3 separate regions of the Homo sapiens genome follow, and all the other regions are linked to region 3. The links are contacts of gene promoters, found by promoter capture Hi-C in blood cells and fetal thymus (Javierre and others, 2016). All regions are on one chromosome and are shown on one strand. The core of a region is centred on a gene start or on the middle of the fragment in contact, and the rest is flanking DNA. Distances in the headings are between cores, read along the strand shown.

Region 1 (4,111 bases), core at 790-3,289, 290 kb after region 3:
CAAGCAGGAGGAGCCCTGTCCTCTGGGGGTGCTGCTTCCAGAGGAGGCCCAAGGACAGTCTCTTCAGAGAGGGGCTCACCCGGGAAAGGGGGTTCCTGAGGAGGCGTGCAAAGGTCAAGGGACCCACCCTTGCCACCTGTCCCAGGGCTTACTGCTGACTCCACTGTCCTGGGAGTGCTGGAATCTCCACACCACTTAAAATGAAAAAGGAAATCAGAAATAATAAGGCATTAGACGTTTGATTCTTTTATTTCCATATGCAATGTAATGTTTAGGCACGCTGCTTGGGATGCTACTTCTAAAAAAATTGTTGGCCATTTTTCAGAATATCCTTTTGGTTTTAAATACTGGTCAGGAAAAACAAATGATGTAAAAATACGTGAATAATTTTCTATTACAGAAATGAAAAACTGATTTGCATCTAAAAGTGCAAGAGGTGAAGTAATTTAACCCTTTCACCAGACGATATGGCAATATACAATATATTGCTTGAGCTGTTTGAGAAGGCTGTGATGTATTTTTGTATTGACATAGAAAATTATAAATTACATTGAATTAGTATCCATAATCACTATATATATACACAAACCAGTTCTAAAAAAATACACTGGTTTAAATTTATGAGTGAAAACCTCACAAGGTACAGTAAACAATTAGCATGCTTCGGTGCCAGATTTTGATTTCTACTTTTAAAATACTAGCCTGTAAAATGAACGCACTCTAATTCCATTAGCAGCACGAGCATTTTCAACTGACTTGCCTAATAGGATTTATTTTAGGTCTGTTAAATATGCAGATTGCTCTGAAATGTTCATTGGTGATGCTTGTTAACAAGGTAAATTTTGGTGAATGGGTTAAAAGGCAGATGAACTACCAAATGAAACAAAAAAACAAACAAAAACAAAAGCCAAAAAAAAAAAAAAAAAATCCCAAAACACAAGCCATATACACTCCAAATAGTCTAGTGTTTCACTTGTAGGAATAATCATTTCAAGCAAACAAGACTTGAACAGAACATATGGCTTTACGATAACATCAATTTATCAACTATGATGTAGCAATAAATACTTTACTTAATCTCTACCAATAGACTTACATTTTTGATCCGTTTTAAACAATACAGAAAACAATTACCAATCAAAAACTGGTTATAAAAAGAACACCAAATATTTCTTATTCAAAATCACTTTTGTAAGTTAGAACAACCAAAATAACACTTAGAGGGCATTTTCATTCTACAACTCCTTGTCGGCCTGGAGGAAAAATGAATTCATAATTTTGTACAAGGTGAAAAATGTATGAAAACCGCCTAATACTTTGGTCACACTAATAATTGTCAAAGTTATGTTTCAAATACAATAGATCTGTGTATTCACTTTTATAAAACTATTCTTACAGCCATTTTAACTATAGTATTACTACTATTATTACATGGGTGGCAAGATCTTATTTCACAGGCTACCCATTATTTAGAACAATACAATATAAACATACGCAAAAATTCTTGGTATTTGTCAATGTGCAATATTTTTACACTTCTGAATTTCTCTGTACAATGTCTTAGAATCTAGAATATAAAGGTTGCTGGTCCTGATCCCTTGCAGAGTGAGTGCAGCAGTGACAGCTTGGTGGGCTCCAGCTGACCCCTCCAGAGCCCCTGAGTGGTGGCGGTCTGCAGTCCTCAGTCAGCAGCAGCAGACGTCACCCGTCATACAGGGCCATTCACTGAAGTGTCACCTGGTGCGCTTGGTTGGCCAGTCCTAAGGAGCAACAGACAGGCATCGGAGGCACTTGCAGCAGAAATATGAAAAACAAAACCTACTTAGCTGAGCTCCCCAAGGGCAGGGACAACTTATTTTAACATTGTTTTGAACTTAGTAAGTTTTTAATAAAATGATATGTAAATGAATGGAGCAAAAGCTCTAGAAAAATCTGAGTGAGTGCATCTAAGCTTCATCACCGGGTGAGCAGGCATTCAGCAAGGGCAGCAGCAGAGCAAATGCTCTGGGAGAACCGCCCCACCGCGGCCTCCAAGAAGCACAGGGAGTGACTAGGTCAGTGGGGTATAAACTGTGGCTTCCAGAGCCTTCAGGAGCTATGTGTTCACCGCTCCTTCAAGAAAGCTTTTATGTGACCCACAGATTGGAATCCACATACTATTTCACTTGGAAACAGGATTCTGCTACTAGGAAAGGGGGGAAAAAAGGAAAGGAAAGGAGGTTTGCAAATAAACTACTGGAAAAAAAAAAAAAGGTGTCCACTTGAAGAACATGTCCCACAAAGCAAATGTTAGGCTCAAAACTGGGAGGGAATAACAGGTGGGACAGTATATAACAAAGTGTCCAGGTTTTGCCTTCCTGCCAAAATTACAACCTGAATATATAACCTATTCGGGAAGGCTTGACCAAAATTGTATCAAGCAGACTTGGGAAAGGGTGCTTAGGGCCGTAACTGGGATGCCCACAAGCACTTTTCCACTAGCATTCACAATTTACAGCTAGAATGCTACTCATGCCTTATACCTGCTGGTTATACAGTGAGCCAAAAAGTCAGCTCTGCACACACAATCCACTCTGCTCACTTACTTACATCTGATGGTGGCTCCGTGTATGAGAGACATAGGAATCGAGACTTCTGGAACTAGACATAACTGGTATATAACTAACTTGCCTTCACTTAAACAAGCTGAGTGATCTTATAAGTAGATTTCTTAGCCCCTCTCAGTTCTGTTTTCTCCTCTGTAAAATGGGAAAAGAACCCTCCCCACGCCCCACAGGGCTTCACTAGTATACATATGAAATAAGTACATAATGTGTGCAGCATGCTCAGCACATCAGAAGCACAAAGGACATGCTTGATAAAACAGCTGTGAAAAGTGAGATCATGTGGCAATGCAGATCTTTAAGTGTGACAGGAAACAGCGCGCCTGCCAATCCAAGGAACTGTGGTATCTGGCTGGGACGGGAACCACACAGGAAAGACGGGTGAGCTTCAATATCCCATGCTGTCATACGTCACTTTAGAACACGTGCAATCTAGGACGCACTCTAGGTCTGCCCTAATGCCCACTCCAACGTCACCTCAGAGATCCTCTCCCCCGCACCCCAGCTCACATGGACCCCTGTCCCTTCTTCGTGGCTTCTTGATGAATGTGCCTCTAGTATGCCCCGAGACCACTGGGTGTCCGTGTGCTGCAGCTTTATGACCCGGCCTAGACCAGTGGCCACCACACACAAACGTGTGTCAGAGGAAAGAAGGACAGATGGATAAAGGCATGGACCCAAGTGATGCCCCTCTTCTTCCACTGGCTGACCCCATCTTTTCCTCCATCCCTTGGCCCGGCAGGTTAGGGCAGGGCTCTTCAGAGCAGGCATTCCCAGCCACAGAGGAGAGCAAGTGGCTTCCCCTTATGCAAACAATTCTTCTGTGCTCAGAAAGCCAAGGAAATGACTCCAGAGCCTTGTGCATCCTTATGACAGAGAAACCAAGAATATTCCCCTGAAGCAACTGCCCCAAACTGGGATAGACCTGGACGATCCTGCCTAGGCAGCCCTCAATATAAAGGAAATTTATAGGTAGAAATCAGAGAGCTGAAATAATTGATTGGGAATGAGACCTATAAAGGACCATTAAAAAATACATTGAAACCCCAAGAAAGAGAGTGACTTGCCCAATCCGTAGAAGCAGAGTTGAGGCAGCTTCCCAGTGCTAGAGGGCCACCCTGCCTCTTCCCCCAAAAGCCTTCACTAGAGCCAACATGCTCAAATAGTTCTTAATTTGTTTGTTTTATATGCAAAAAAAATATTTCTAATCACAAAAACAAAGGCTTTATTTTGGCTACAATTTCCACAGGAGGAACACAAACAGCTTGCTACACTGTGAATACAGGATTTTGGACCAACAAAGAGTGCTCCCTGCTGGTTCCCACTGGTTATGCTCTCATACAATGCTGGCAAGATTTGGGGGAGGATGGGGTGGGGGTGGGGGGTTAAAACTTCTCTGAAATAGCTTTAAAGGTCATTTTATTCCTTATGGAAGGAATATACAATCTTAGCTACATTTGTTCACAGAAGTTGATTGTGGGAAGTGCTGAACAAAGCTTCCTGTGGCC
Region 2 (4,243 bases), core at 415-2,914, 330 kb after region 3:
AACATGGTACCCAACCCCACTGAGATACAGCTTGAACACATTCTGGACAGGAAAATGAATGGCCTGGAGGATACGATTAAAATCTCCTTGGTGCCTAGACCTACTATATAAGCATATTAAACACTTGGAATAGCTGTAGCCCTCACAATACTACAAAGCAAAACTCCCTATCAGAAGGACTTAAGACTAAACGGAAGTGGTATTTAAGAAAGGGCTCGGGAATAAAGAATTGAAGAAGTATTTAGATCCACCTGAAAGTCTCAACAGACAGCAAAATTCTGGAGTGGGGCTAACTCAACAGGGGATATAGGTAATGTTAAAGGGCCCTATCAATCTAACCACTTTTGCTTTATAAGCCAACTTATGATTTTGTTTGACTTTAGATTATGCAGTCCGAGTATGATGGCAGAAAAGCAGAGCAAGCAAAGAAGAACCGAGACGCAATCTGAGTGACAGATGGAGCCCAAAATAATTTTTTTCTAACACAGTCTACCAGGGGCTGAACGTTTTATTTTTGCGGGATGACCACACCCTTCTATGGGGATATATGTAGTAACATTTACACACAATCCCAGAGCAGATCTGCTGACAGCATACTATACAGTAAGTGAGCATTATCTGAATTGTAATGAAGTCCTTCTTTATTACAGAACTGCTCACAAAAGAAATATGCTTGAGTTACCTAAGATAAAAACAATTGTTTAAAAGTCTGGTAACAAGCTTAATTGGACATTTTTGACTTCTAACTTTTAAGCCAATCAAAGGATAATTTTAAAAGAAGTTTCCCAAACAAAATCAGATTACTAAATATTCCTTTATAAGACAAGACAATAGTCCCCTTAAAAGAGACTATATTGCCTGCAAAGGAATCAACGTGGGAACCTCCAAAATTAAGCAGTATGATTTAACAGTATGGGAGAGGACAATTCCATTCTACAAAAAAAACCCTGATTATCCAGAACACTCAAGTTAAACGATAGTCCGAGTATCTATCTACAATGGGTAAAATATTCATTAAAAATGACTTAACCCTTCCTTGATGACCCAGGGCTGTCAATACTAATGTCATTTTCTCTGCTGGGCTGTGGTACACAGAGACACTCGGGCTATTAGGCCTTAGGTCTATTTTAATTAAATGGCCCCACATAGCTTCCTTTTAATAGTTACCTCAACTTCATAATTCTTCCAACTCTTAATACTTCCTAATTCTATCATTATTCCCCGCTTAAAAAGTGTGACTCTGTCAGGAGTCTGGAAAAAGATGACCATATTTTTAGGCAATCTACAAAGTAGGGGGCACAGCCCTCCAGGGAGTGACACAGGAGGACCAAGTGGCTGCTCTCTGGCTTTCAGAGCCTGCTTCCCTGTTGCTTCAGGCTGCCAGATCATTGAATTCCTAACAGTCAAGGTGTTACTGCATATTAGAAATTCAAGACTGCCACTGCCAAATTTGAAATATAGAATTAAACGCCAAACATAAACACTTCAATGTCGAGTCACGTGCTGCTTCTGTCTAAGCAAAGGCCACCCCTCGACTATCAGCTGGCATGTACTTGTAAAAGGAAATGCTTTCCCCATCTTTAAAAGCAGAAAAAAGCAATACTTACCTTAAAACTTAAATGTGTTTAAAAACCAAAAAATACATTCCAAAGTCCAATATAATTTTTAAAAAAATTATCAATGCCATTATTCCCTGGCTCAAAGTCCCAATTCTGGTAAAAAAATTTTAAAGCTGGGGTTTCAAAGTCATCTACAAAATATTCCCCCATTGGGAATGATGTAAAACGAGGGTATACTCAACTCAATAATATCAGAAAAATATCCAACTGAATCTTTCGCTTTCCTAAGCACCCAGGGTTATCAGTGGCATGTGGCCACAAACCCAGCAGAATGAAAGGAAGGCAAGAGGCTGTTGAGGTGCTCGGCAGCAGGGCATGGAGGGAAATGGACACTAAGTAGGATGTGGAGCAGAAATCAGTGACTTCTCAATATCCTTCTGTCATCCCAGGCAGGTAATTAGGAGTGGACTAGACAAATGGGCAAGAATATTGTGAATACTGACCTCTCTCCCTGGTAAAGAGATAAGAATTTATCTTTGGCTCACAGTTACTGAGGTAAATGGAAGATCTTTTACATCTTTCTGAATAAATGGGCAAAGGCTAAGAGCACTGAAAGAATAAAAATGTAACCTTGTAAAACCTACTAGATCTACCGTGTTCCTCTTGTTAGTTTCTCCTAAGGAGCTTGTGCAGAACGTCTCCCATCGTTCCCTGACTTCGTCGGGAAGATCTTCAGAGTGAGAAAAGCAAAAAAGCATTATCACCACAATGACCTCCACGGAGACAAATAAAGTAAGCAGGTAATATAAAAGTGGGCCTACTCACCTGGTTCATCAATGGTGAGCAGGCCCTATCAGCTGAGAAACTGGGTGACAGCCAGCCCAGTGCTCTTAGAGAAATGGAATTATTAAACCTTCCATAGGCCCAAATCCCATGGACTTTCAGGAACCAGAATCCCCCTACCCAATGGTATAGGCTTGATGAGGCCAAGAGCCCTAAGGTAGCTTGTGAACTTAACAAGTTTCTGAAAATGCTCTGGTAGAAGCTTAACCTGGAAAGTGTGTTTCCAACAAGCTTTTCTGAGAAAGGTGGTAGGTGTTTAACGTGTCGGGGGTAGGGGGATCTTTTTCCATGGTCAAGTTAAGTCTAGAAAATGCTGCAAATGACAGCTCCTGCACACTTTCTTGAAATGCTCTCATTGGCAGCTGGCCAATGAATGTTCCACAGAACCTAGTATGGCTTTTCAAATTGCTCTAAGATCATGTTTCCTAAATATTTGTGTCATGGGCCAACGTGGATACACAGGTAATAGTGAAATTCTACCTTCTAGAGAAATGTTAAAGAAAAGGATAAACAACTGCTTTTCTGAGAAAATCAAACCATGACGTAATTTTAGAGGCCTAACTAGTCATCTGATAATTCTGGTTTAAAACAGCCATGCATGTGTGCACACTCACAGAAGTGTACACATGTACCACCTGGCAAGCAGCTTCCATAAAGGAAAGTCTGATCTAAAAACTCAGTCATATCACATGGCCATTTCTTCTTAGTTAGGACATAAAGATAAACTGTGTGGTGAAATGGCCCAAGGAAGAGGCTTATACCTCTTATGCCTCTCTCAAGAAGCAAAATTAGAAGTGGGCACACACCACTTTTTCCATCCCTGGTGACAACTGTGGTTTTAGTGCACATTCAACAGGGAATAGCCTCTTGAACAAACAAACATTCTTAAGAAAAAATGGAAGACCCACTGGGAAATGATTTTAACTGAACAAATTCTGTACCATGGATGTTAAAGACTGTTCACATTCAGAATAGGTCTCAGGATTGGTAATCCTGTTGGTACAAAAACCCAGAGTACACAGTTCTCTCATTTTAGAAGAAGGCTCATGGCTTGGGGCCAGTGTAAAAAAGCATCCATATAGTTTCTTCCAAATAAGCTTGGGCTGATTAAACTGAAATGCTATACAGAAAGAGTCCTTTAGAAGCCAATACCCCTCATTTTAGTGACAGCGACATCAAAGAAATGCTGATAAATGCCCTAATATTCCAGTTAAAGAAACTTAATTCAGAGGCTATATAGAGGCCTTCAGAAAATAAAAGGCAAAATTATAGCTGAAGTGGCTCAACTGCTAGCATATGAGTACTTCACACTCACAATACTCAAAAGCATGATTCACCAAGCAATGCTCTTTAAGAATGACAATAGGTGACTCTTATATGCTGAATCCAGCCAAGCCTGCCAATGCTTATGGAATGGTCTGTAACTACATGAACATAAATACAACCAAAAAACAACACTGTTCAAACACATTCTCAAGAACCTCATTCAAATACATAATTTGCCAAATATAAAGAAGTCCCACAAATCACTATTAAAAATGCTACATGCATTTCTACTTGACCCTTAAATCCTTCCTGCAACCCAACAAAAATGTAATTCAAATTTCACAAATAACTTACCTTTGATAAGCTGCTGCACTAATGCACTGTTGGGGCCCTTGTCAGTGCTGTGCACGATACAGTTAGCTATCCTCGTTAGGTGTCCCATGTAACCATGCCGTCTTCCTCCCTCAGCCCTGACAAGAGGTAAAGGACAAATACTCAGATTCCTGATAGGATGAAGTGATGAAACACTCGGTAAATACTGCGGACTTTTAAACAATCATTTTAAACCCTGAAGG
Region 3 (4,469 bases), core at 499-2,998:
TCCTTCATACACAGAACAGAAGACTAGCTCCTTAGCCAGGCCCTTCCCAGGCTCGCCCTGCCAGTCTGCTCAGCATCCTCAGAAAGAGCCACTGCCATGGGGGCTGACTCTGTCCTTGGCACCACGCTGAGCACCTGACTGACAGGGGATCGTTTCATTCTCAGAGCAAGCCTGTGAGGTGGGAATCATCCCAGTTTTACAGATGAAGTAAGTAAGGCTCAGAGACAGAACCTGCAAAGTCACACAGCCATAAATGAAACAGCTGGGATTCTAAGAAACTCAACATAACTGCAAAAGCTCTCCATTGCCATGATCAAAAGCATCTCAGACAAATCCTACCCACATATGGCTGACTGCAAACTCTGGAAGCAGACTGCCTGACAGCAAATCGGGCTACACTGTGTCACCCCGGGGCAAGTTACTTAACCCCTCTCTGTCTCCATCTCCTTAGACGGAAAATGACAGTAACAGAAACCTACACTGCGGCCGGGCACGGTGGCTCACGCCTGTAATCCCAACACTTTGGGAGGCCAAGGCGGGCAGACCACGAGGTCAGGAGATCGAGACCATCCTGGCCAACATGGTGAAACCCTGTCTCTACTAAAAATACAAAAAATTAGCAGGACGTGGTGGCGCGCCTGTAGTCCCAGCCACTCAGGAGGCTGAGGCAGGAGAATCGCTTGAACCCGGGAGATGGAAGCTGCAGTAAGCCGAGATCGTGCCACTGCACTCCAGCCTGGGCGACAGAGAGAGACTCTGTCTAAAAAAAAAAAAAAGAAAAAGAAAAAAAAGAAACTTACACTGTAGGGTTGGCATGGGATGAGGTGTAAAAGAATTAACGCATGGAAAGTACGTAAGTGTTAGCTCTGATTGTTTTGGACAAGTAAATAGTCCCATTCGGAAACAAGCCCGGCTCTCACATGGCTCCCCACACCTCTCAGGACGGCTCCCCACCCTACTCCGCACCCACCAGCTTAACTCCAATTTTCCTTCAGGCACCACTCCCTCCTTGAAGCCACCATGACCCTCCCCAGGGAAGGGCCTTCCTCCTCCAGGCTCTTTCCCCGCGACACGCACGCAGCCGGCCCTGGACGCACTGGAGGGGAAGGGACTCTCTGCTTATGCCCAGCCCGCCGCTGGCCGGATCGGGGGCAGCCAGTGCACCTGACTCATGCTGCCGGGGCCTGACTGAGAATGGGCGCAAACCATGTTTACTGAATGAATAAGGGAAAGGGCTGCTAACTCGCTGCGGGTGGAACTGGGGTCGGGGCCAGGGCCCAGGAGTGTAAGCTTAGTGGGGGGTCTCGGGTCGGGAAATCAAAGTGCTTCTTAAGGGTCCCCAAACGGAACGCGCTGCCCAGGAAGTGATGAGACTGACAACTCGGGAGGTGGCCAAGCAGGGGACGGACGATCCCTGCCCCTGACTCGAAGGGTCGGAGACGAAATTCCCGCCCCAGACTATGAGGCCGAGCCCCTCGGAGACTCTGCCCGGGACACGGCGGGACCGACCGCGAGGGAGCGGCGCCGGCGGCCTCCCGTACCTGCGCTCCTCCACCTCCGCGTCTCTCTCAAGCTCCAGCAGGTCCAGTTGCTTGGTCACGAAGCTCTCCACAGCTGCCGAGGCCATCGCCGCCGCCGGCCTGGGCCCCTAGAAGCCGACGTCCCGCTTCTGCGCCGGGCCGGTGTTACAGCGGACCGGTGTTCCCCGCCGGGCCCGTGCGTTACGCACGCGGTTCGCGTCGTTTCCGTTTCCGGCCGAGGCTGCGGCCATGGCAGCATCTTCCCTGACGGTCACCTTAGGGCGGCTGGCGTCCGCGTGCAGCCACAGCATCCTGAGACCTTCGGGGCCCGGAGCAGGTGAGACCTGGGATATGGGAGGAAGGGAGGACGCAGAGCGAGCGCTGCTCCCTGCGGTCTCGCCACGTATGTGCCTGGGTCCGACCTGGTGCCTTGTGTGTTGATCGCATTTGTGGTGAATATAGCACGGGTTTTGGAGTCGGGGGAACCCAGGTTCAGATTTTGATTCCTTCAGTTAGTAGCCTGAATACTGACAATAGCCCTTGAACTTTGGTATAGGCCCTATGTTATGGGGGAGAAGAGTGAGGCTCAGAGGAGCTAGGTAACGTGCCCAGGGTCACACAGCGGGGAAGTGGAAGAAGAGTACTTCAGGCGCAGTCATTTCGGCTCCAAAGCCTGTGCTTGAACCACTGCCCCCAGGCTGCGAGCTGGTCTGAAAAATGGTGATGGATATCCTCGCCTAATCTGAACTCATTCTGCAAAAGAAACAGCCGTATTTAAGGCGCTGGGCTGATACGAGGCTCCAAAAAGGTTATGTCCGTTAAAAACTCTATAAATCTCTGCTTGAAAATGGTTGGAGTGTGTATTTGTGTGCATGAGTGTTTATGTATGTTTTAAACCTGGGTTTCATGTCTCACCATGACCCCCAAAAATGGAAAACTGGATCTAACTCTATATTGGACGATATTAAAAGAATAGTACCATAATTCCCAAAACTTGGAAGCAACCCAGATGTCCTTCAGGAGATGAATGGTTACATAAACTGTAGGACATCCATACAGTAGAATATTATGCAGCAATAAAAAGAAATGAGTCATGAAGAGACATGGAGGAAACTTACATACATGTTACTAAGTAAAAGAAGCCAACCTGAAAAGGGGACATCTTGTATGTTTCCCACTATGACATTCTGGAAAAGGCAAATCTAAGGAGACAGTAAAAAGTTACATGGGGGGTAAGAGGATTGGGGGAGAAAAGGATAAATAGGTGGAGCTCAGAGGATTTTTAGGGCAGTGAAACTATTCTGTATGATATAATGGTAGATACATGTCATTATAAGTTTGTCCAAATCCATAGAATGTACACTACCAAGGGTGAACCCCTAATGTAGACTATGGACTTTGGATAACAATGATGTGTCAATGTAGGTTCATCAATTGTAAAGATTGTACCACTCTGGTGAGGGATGTTGATAGGAAGCTGTGGGCACATGGACAGGGGACATATGGGAACTCTCTGTACCTTCCACTCAATTTTGGTGTGAAACTAAAACTGTGCTAAAAAATAAAGTCTATTAAGAAATTAATAATAATCACAGAGTTGGGCCAGAGGCAATGTAGATGCCAAAATTGGCCATGAGTTGGTAACTGTTGAACCTGGAAAGGGATAATTGAGAGAGTTCACTATTCTGTTCTCTTTACTTTTGTATGCTTGACATTTTCCATAATAAAACTTAGGTTTAAGTAGGCAGGAAAGTTTTTACAAAAGCAGTGGGACTTACTCCATTCTACCTACCTACATGAAACCACCCCTCCAATGCTATGTTCAAGTACAGACTCACGCATTAGGAGAGAAAGACACACAGTGAAGCGAGTAGAGACAAGGTGACCAAAACAGTGAGCAGCTGGGGCCTTGAAGAGTGAGCAAAGGAGACGTGATGGAAGTACACAGTCACAGTCTCTAGGACTACCTAAAGGAAATCCTGTGGGAGAGGAAGGAGACTGTTTGTTCCCTGGGGACCCAAAAACAAAGCTAGAAGCAAATTAGGTACAGAAGCCTGCTAAGTTTTTAATAGTGGGATGGATTTGCCAATGGGTTGACTGAGTAGTGTGCGAGAGAAGAGTCAAAACTGATGGAGGTTTGGGGCCTGAGCAACTGGGAGGATGAAGTTGCCCTCATGTGAGAGGGAGGAGTGTGGGAGAAGCAGGCATGGGAAGAAATGAGGAGCCTCTGGAGGTGTGAGGTGCTCGTCAGACACGAGTGGCTAAGGCAGATAGATAGGTGGGTATGCAAAACCAGGAGAGAAGCCCTGGCTGGAGGTGTAAACTTGGGAGTCACCAGCACATTGGGGGTGTTTAAATCCATCGGACTGGATGCAGTCACCAGAGGAATGGCCATGGGCGGAGAGGAGGTCAAGGCCAAGGGTTGAGCCCCGGATGCCCAAATGGGAGAGGAGAGGAGAAAGCAGCCGAGGAGATGCAAATGGGGAGCTGGTGCTAATGGGTGAACTTTAAAAAGGTGGTTTTTATGGTGTGTAAATTATAGCTGAGTTTCTTTAAAAGTGGTTATTGAGAAACTGTTCTCTGCTTTTTACACCTAAGCACTTATTTTGATCCCCTGTCTTCTCAGTAGATTGAATGTCTTTGTTTCCTGGTGTATTCCTGGTGTATGCGTTATCTACGGTTACATCAGAAATTACCCCAAAACTTAGCAGCTTAAAACATTTATTAACTCACACCAGTTCTGAGAGCCAGGAACACAGAAGCAGCTTAAGTGGCTGGTTCTGGCTCAGGGTCTTAGCTTGCAGCAAGCAAGTCTGCAGGGGCTGTAGTTATCTCAAGACTCCACTGCGCCAGCGGCTGGAGAATCTACCTGCAAGGTCGTTCCCATGGGTGTTGGCGATAGGCCTAGTTCCCCGCCATGTGGACCTCTAGGTAGGGCTGCTCACAGCA

The links. The method cuts DNA at HindIII sites, captures the fragments that hold promoters and counts their contacts. A CHiCAGO score of 5 or more calls a contact.
Region 1: a fragment that was not itself captured here is called in contact with the fragment with the promoter of MRPL21 in region 3 in 2 of 17 cell types (total B cells and naive B cells); the score reaches 5.8 in total B cells.
Region 2: a fragment that was not itself captured here is called in contact with the fragment with the promoter of MRPL21 in region 3 in 1 of 17 cell types (M2 macrophages); the score reaches 5.6 in M2 macrophages.

What each region holds. Positions count from the first base shown.
Region 1 is chr11:68,610,715-68,614,825 of GRCh38, reverse strand. It overlaps PPP6R3 (protein phosphatase 6 regulatory subunit 3), which reads right to left. Exons shown (of 24, transcript NM_001164161.2): 24 at 1-1,760. The coding sequence ends at 1,709. Among named protein-coding and RNA genes, the nearest start is that of GAL, 72 kb to the left of the region's middle. The HindIII fragment of the contact is 172 bases long and covers 1,954-2,125 here.
Region 2 is chr11:68,574,004-68,578,246 of GRCh38, reverse strand. It overlaps PPP6R3 (protein phosphatase 6 regulatory subunit 3), which reads right to left. Exons shown (of 24, transcript NM_001164161.2): 13 at 4,023-4,138; 14 at 2,204-2,289. Among named protein-coding and RNA genes, the nearest start is that of GAL, 110 kb to the left of the region's middle. The HindIII fragment of the contact is 1,884 bases long and covers 723-2,606 here.
Region 3 is chr11:68,901,111-68,905,579 of GRCh38, reverse strand. It overlaps MRPL21 (mitochondrial ribosomal protein L21), which reads left to right and starts at 1,748. Exons shown (of 7, transcript NM_181514.2): 1 at 1,748-1,857. The coding sequence starts at 1,770. It overlaps IGHMBP2 (immunoglobulin mu DNA binding protein 2), which reads right to left and starts at 1,689. Exons shown (of 15, transcript NM_002180.3): 1 at 1,542-1,689. The coding sequence starts at 1,627. RefSeq lists enhancers at 1,207-1,266, 1,597-1,716, 1,148-1,875. The HindIII fragment of the contact is 5,018 bases long and covers 1,293-4,469 here.